Linked DNA regions of Homo sapiens: region 1 is linked to region 2. The links are contacts of gene promoters, found by promoter capture Hi-C in human tissues and cell types (Jung and others, 2019). All regions are on one chromosome and are shown on one strand. Each heading gives the region's core, a stretch centred on a gene start or on the middle of the fragment in contact. The rest is flanking DNA. Distances are from core to core; before and after follow the strand shown.

Evidence for each region. Contacts are between HindIII fragments. The study calls those that stand out against the background at their distance.
Region 1: a fragment that was not itself captured here is called in contact with the fragment with the promoter of GPRC5C in region 2 in 2 of the 25 tissues and cell types used here (lymphoblastoid cells and spleen).

What each region holds. Positions count from the first base shown.
Region 1 is chr17:74,500,010-74,503,176 of GRCh38, reverse strand. No RefSeq gene overlaps it. Among named protein-coding and RNA genes, the nearest start is that of CD300LB, 30 kb to the left of the region's middle. The HindIII fragment of the contact is 5,799 bases long and covers 1-3,167 here.
Region 2 is chr17:74,430,146-74,433,492 of GRCh38, reverse strand. GPRC5C (G protein-coupled receptor class C group 5 member C) reads right to left here and starts at 1,405. Exons shown (of 4, transcript NM_022036.4): 1 at 1,352-1,405. RefSeq lists a silencer at 2,393-2,532. The HindIII fragment of the contact is 9,677 bases long and covers 962-3,347 here.

The DNA.
Region 1 (3,167 bases), core at 636-3,135, 69 kb before region 2:
TAACAGGCTCATTTTAACTAAAAGGGGGCAGCAAGGTGGACTTTTGAGCTAAGCAGTGTTGTGGTCAAATACTGAGTGAGTCACTTAACCTTCTCCCTTCGCTTCTGATCCAGCACAGTGGCGCCTAGGACTATGCATGGGACACGAGGGGTTACTCAATCAGTGATGTAGAGACAGCTGGCTAAGTCTTATACAAACTCAAGTTCTGTTCATACCGCACTCTGTAAGCCAAAATAGTTTCAAATGGATCAAAGATTTAAATACGAAGAAACTACACAAGTTTTAGAATAAACTGAAATCTTTCTAAAGTCTTAGACTATTTAAAAGTTTTAGAATAAACTGAAAACTGCAAGTTTTAGAATAAACTGAAAATATAAAATGAAATTTACAAAAGTTTTAGAATAATGGGTGAATTTATTAGACTCTTGAAATGGAGCATCCTAAGGAAAACTCAAACTTTATAAAGCAAATGATTGAGAAATCTGACCTCAGAAAAAAGATGAAACATCACTGGGTGAAAACACCTTTGAAAGTTTTTTAAAAAATGACAAGCTATGAAGGAAATGTTGCAGGCAATTTGACAGAGAGCTTATTTTCTTAATTTACAAAGCACTCGGAGGAACTCAGTAAGATAGATTAAAAGCTCAATGGCAAAATGGGCAAATGGATAGTTCACAGGAAAAAAACTAAAATGGCAAATAAAGGAATGCAAATTCTGAAAATTATAAGATATTATTTTCTTCTATCAGATTGAAAAGAAAATAGAGTGTGAAAATATCCAATACTGGCGAGAGTGTAGGGAAAGGGACATCGTTGAGTGTTCTTGATGGGAAGGTAAGTGGGTGTAAGGTACATGGATGTGCTTTGGTCAAGAATAGGTTAGCCAGGTGCGGTGGCTCACGCCTGCAATCCTAACACTTTGGGAGGCTGAGGCGGGTGGATCACCAGAGGTCAGGTGTTTGAGACCAGCCTGGCCAACATGGTGAAACCCCATCTCTACTATAAATACAAAAAAAAAAAAAAAATAGCTGGGTGTGGTGGCTCGGGAGGCTGAGGCAGGAGAATCGCTTGAACCTGGGAGGCGGAGGTTACAGTAAGCCGAGATTGCACCATTGCACTCCAGCCTGGGCGACAGAGCGAAACTCCGTCTCAAAAAACAAAAACAAAAACAAAAACAAAACAGGCAGAGGCAAACATCAGGGCCAGCGTGACTCAGGGAGTCTGGCGCGCAGGCGCATAACTCCACTTGTTATGTAATCTGTTTGTGTAAGTGGCTCAGAGCCACTATTGTCTGTAAAAGGTATAACTGCCCTGCTGACGCTGTACATGTGGTTCGGCATGGCTTGTGCCCAGAGGCAGAGAGTAAAACTGCTGACCCCATAAGGGAGAGCCAGGCTTGTAGGCCAGGGAATGCAGCTGTAAGCCTGGGAATGGCAAGAGCCGCAAAGCTGGAGCAGGCAGCCGAGATAAAGGTGAATTGTATGAGAAAGCTTCTGATGAAACTATCACAAGGACAGAAAACCAAACACCGAATGTTCTCACTCATAGGTAGGAATCGAACAATGAGAACACTTGGACACAGGGTGGGGAACATCACACACCGGGGCCTGTCAAGGGGTGGGGGGCTGGGGGAGGGATAGCATTAGGAGAAATACCTAGTGTAAATGACGAGCTGATGGGTGCAGCAAACCAACATGGCACATATATACCTATGTAACAAACCTGCACATTGTACACATGTACCCTAGAACTTAAAGTATATAAAAAAAACTGCTGATGAAAAAGCTGCTGAATAAAACCATATTTTACCTGCCTACAGCCCCCTAAATATTCCTTCCGCTATTCGCCACCCATCCACCCACTCCCCTCAGACCTCAACATGGGCTGGAACCTGACGCTTGGCATGACAGTGGGCAAGAGCTTTTTGAAGGAAAATTTGTCAAGATCTATTAAAAAAAAGTCAATTCATGGACCTTTTGACTAATGCTCCACTATTGGAAATTTCTCCTAAAGATATACTCAGATAGGCCAGGCGTGGTGGCTCACGCCTGTAATCCCAGCACTTTGGGAGGCTGAAGTGGGCAGATCACGAGGTCAGGAGATCGAGACCAGCCTGGCCAACACGGTGAAACCCCATCTCTACTAAAAATACAAAAATTAGCTGGGTGTGGTGGTGCACGCCTGTAGTCCCAGCTACTTGGGAGGCTGAGGCAGAAGAATCGCTTGAACCCGGGAGACAGAGGTTGCAGTGAGCCAAGATCACACCACTGCACTCCAGCCTGGGCAACAGAGCAAGACTCTGTCTCAAAAAAAAAAAAAAAAAAAAAAAAAAAAGATATACTCAGATATATACCAAGATACAGGTACAAAAATACAAAAACATGGTCTGGGATGACATAACAATGTGTGCATCTGTGCATGTGTATACACACGCAGTCATACATGGGGCCTTGTATGACACACAGATACATCGGCATGCATTGTGCACCTACAGCTCCAGTCCCTCCCCCAGCGCCTGACTCATACAGCCAATAGGGGGCTTGTCATCTTTATTTGAGCATCTGTACGCCCAACAGAGTCCCTGTTTCCTCTCCCCAATTCCACCCCAAAACTGCTGCTCTCTTAGTCTTTCCATTTCCGTAAAGGGACCCACCTTTACTGCCCTCCCAATTGCTCAAGTGAAAACCGTAGAAGTCACCTGCAATTTTTATTCCTTTCTTTTCACTCCCTCCCACATCCAATCCTTCAGCCTGTTGGGTTGGCTCTACGGCCAGAATGCATTCTGAGCTTGTCCACCTTCTCCAATGGCCACATCCACCACCCCATTCCAAGGTGCCATTGTGTGACTCCCTTGCTTGAAATTTTTCAGAGTTTCCACTTAGGACAAAATCCACACATTTGCGTATTAACCCTTCCCTGATCTGACCACTGCCTGCCTCTGCCTTTCTGCGTCTGCCTCCCACCAAGCTCCCCACATTGTCTACTCTGTACTCATCTGGCCGGCACCCTAAGCCTGGGACACACTAGCCTTGTTCCCCCTTAGAGCCTTTGCCTGAGCTGTTTCCTCTGCCAGGAATGCTCTCACTCTATATTATTGTGTGGCTGGCTCCTTCTCAAGTCTCAGCTCAAATGTCAGGAAGTCCCTCCATGACCTCCCTATGCAAGCA
Region 2 (3,347 bases), core at 156-2,655:
TGCCTGGAAGGAGCGGCCTCAGTGTGTAGGTTGGTGGGGGGTGGGTTGGGGTTCCTCGAACCTCAGCCTAGACACCCCACCCCTATCCCCCTGCCCCTGCCCCGCACCAAGACCAGGCATTTGGGCCAAAATGCCCTGAGCTCTCTGAGACTTGGAAATCTTCAAGGGTCTGCTCTGGAATGTCACTCTGGAATGCGCCCCACCCCCCAATGCACTCCCTCCCCCAGTCCAGTTGAAGGCACAGGGGTGGGGGGCCGGCGGGGAGAGGAAGCTCCAGGAGCACAAAACCCTACTTCCAACAGTCTCCTCTCCCGGGCTTTAGGATCTTGATCGTGGAGTTTGTAAGTGATTGGGTCTTCCAGCGTGTAACACTGCGGGCCTGGGGATGGAGGTGCAAAGGACGCTGGAAAAGCCAGCCGGGAGTGGGGGTTCGGGATCTAGGGGCCAGGCTACCAGAAGGGGAGGCGCTTTGATAGTCTGAATTTCCAAACTTCCCTCAGGGGGATTCTGAACCCTCTCGTCCCTACTTGGGTCGACGGTACTGGGGTCTACACCTGCGCTCCCTGGGTGGCTGGAATGGGGAGCAAGGGAACCAGTCACTCTCTCCCATTTTTAGGGCCACAGAAACCTGCCCTCCACATCCACAGTAGCAGGCGGCAGAGAGGACGCCACCCACGAGAGAGAGTGACCGCGGACTCCCACCGAGAGGCAGGCGGTGGAGGGGCTCCTCTTGGAGACCCCGATTATGGAGTGGTTTCCCCTCCCTCCAGCCCGAGCCGCAGCGCCGGGCTCCCCCACCCCCCCAGTCCCCAGCCGGCTCGGGTTTGAAAACTTTCAGCGACCGAGCGGAGTTGGCGCGGCGTCCCCAGCCCGCAGGATGTCCAGTCCCCCCGCCTCTGCCCTCGCCCACTCCCCGCCGTCCCGACCCGACTCTTCCGGGCGGCGGAGCGGGAAGGCAGCAGCCCTTACCTGGGACTCGCCGCCGGCCCCGCTCCAGCGCAGCGTTTGGGGCCAACTCCAGCCCCAGGCGGGGGGCGGGCGGGGGTGGGAGGGACGCGGCGCGGGGCGCTGGGCCAGGCCCGGTCCTGGCTGGGATGGCGGGGCCCGGGCCGGGACGCAGGGCCTGCCTCTCCCTGGGACCGAGGCTGAGCCAGGCGCGCTGGGTTGCTCGCTCTCGCGCGGGCCTGTCCCCAGGCAGGGCTCCTTGCTTTCGGCGAGGGTGGGCTGGAGCCTGCATCACCGTTACATCACCTCCATTCAGGGCGCTAATCGGGCGCCCGCCGCGCTCCAGGTACGTGCGCTCCGTTTACACAGGAACAAAGCCTGCCCGGCCCTCCCCGCCCCGACTCACCTCCAGGCTGAGCCGACTCGTACTTTCCGGCTGGTGAGGGAGATGGGAGTTTCTGGCCCTGCCGGCGTGTGGGTTGTTGCTGTTGACTGCCACGCCCCCGCATGCGGGCGCGCGCACACTCACGCGCACTCACTTTCTGGGCTCGGCCTTCGCCGGGGCAATTGGTGTGAGGGTGCAGCCCTGCGCACCCCCCACCGCGTCTTCCAGAGAGCGCGCCTACGGACACGCGCGGGGCTACCTTGGCGCGTCTCCGTGGGGGACACCTAGCCTTTGTCACCTTCGTCCTGGCCCTCCCGTGAGACACACTTCAGGCACAGTTCGCTGGGAGCGGGCCGGAGCGAGGCGCACACTCAAGACAGAGTCCGTCTTTGTCACGCCTTCTGCGCCCCCTCCCCTCCCCAGCTTGCACACGTGGACACACCGCACACCGAGGTTCGCCTTTTGCACGCACGGTCCTTCTCTGGGACCTCCACCAGTCACCAAGCGTACGTGGGATCGTCACCAAGCGCTCCTCTCACGCGTGGGCCGAGTCCAGACCACTCTGGACCGTGGGCAAAGGTCCCCCTCGGCCCGACTACCCCGCGCCCGGGTTTCCTGTGACCGTTCCAGGTTCTGCCCAACTCGGAGCGCGCTCTCCCCTCCCGGCGTCCCCGTTCCCTGCTCCGACTTGTCCTAATTAGCCTTCACGGTTTTGTTCCCCGAGGTACAGTGTTTAGCGCGACCCCCTGGGCCTCTGCGCTCCGGGACACGTTGGCTCTGACTCCGAGTCCGTCCTTTCCAGGAGGTCAGGTTCCCACCAGCCCCACCCCCCACTCCCTGTTCCGGGGTGGATCTGTGGGTTGCCACCCTTTCCCCTCCGGCCCCAGGAATCTGCTGAAGCTGGACCGCAGAAATTGGGAAGCGAATCCAGGCTGGTACTTATCCAGCCCGATAAACAAGAGATTTTCCGGCCGCCTTCCCCCGGGGCTGCTGGCCTCGCGGGGGGTGGGGTGCGCAGTCCTGGGGGCCCGCAGCGAGGCCTAGTTAGCCCGCGCCAGAGGCCCGTAGGGGCTGAGGCGCACAGAGGAGGGAGAGGTTGTTGGGCCTGGCCAGGGCCCTGGAGACGCGGAGGGAGGGCAGGGCGCCGAGTCTCGGGGTGCCGGTTCTCATGACGCCGAATTGCCTGGGGGATCGCCAGCGGTGCGCCGGTCGGAGCCAGCTGGTGGCGGGGCGGGCGGCCCGGAGTGTTTGCTCAACCCTGAGCGCCCGCGAGGGGGAGGGGAGGCAGCTGGTCACGGGCTAGGGGGTAGCAAGGTGGAGGAGCGGGGGCTGGGAAAGGGGAGGGTATCTCCCGGGCTGCTTGTTTGCGTGCCTGCCGCGGTCTACGACAACCGGGAGTCTAAACTCTATGAATCACCCGGAGTTGCTGGAGCGATAAACCTCAGGCTGGTTCCTCCCCTCGCACACCGGCTTCTCGGACTCCTGGAGGGAATGTTTGCTTAGCGGCCGGAGCTGGCGGTGAGGCCCTGGTTCTCTAGAACCCTGTATCCCTTCCTGGCCTTGCCCTCACGGGCTGGTCTGGGGTGGCGAAGACTGAATTGTTTCAAGTCTCTTCAATATTAAGAAGAGGGGCGCAGTGCTGCTGCTGATCTGTTGCTCACTCCTGGGCTCCCTTCCGTAGCTCCACCTCCCACCCTAAGATTCAGAGGCCCCCATGCCAGGGAGGCAAACGCTTGTAGGGTCCAAGCAGTTGAGTGCCAACGCTAGAAAGGCAAACGGCGGGTCAGACCTAGGCGAGGGGCATCCGTGACTGTGGGCTGGGACTAGTTCTCGTGAAGCAGGCAACTGGTGCTGAACACAGTGTGCTGGGAGGGGCCGCTCATTAGCATATGTGAAAAGCCAGCTAAGAGCTAGAGGAAGGTGGAATGGAAATAGTCCCCGAGACTGCTTGTGACCTTAAGAAGCCAAAGATGAATTGTGGATCTGGCAGATCTGTTTCAATTTATTTTCAAGCTTT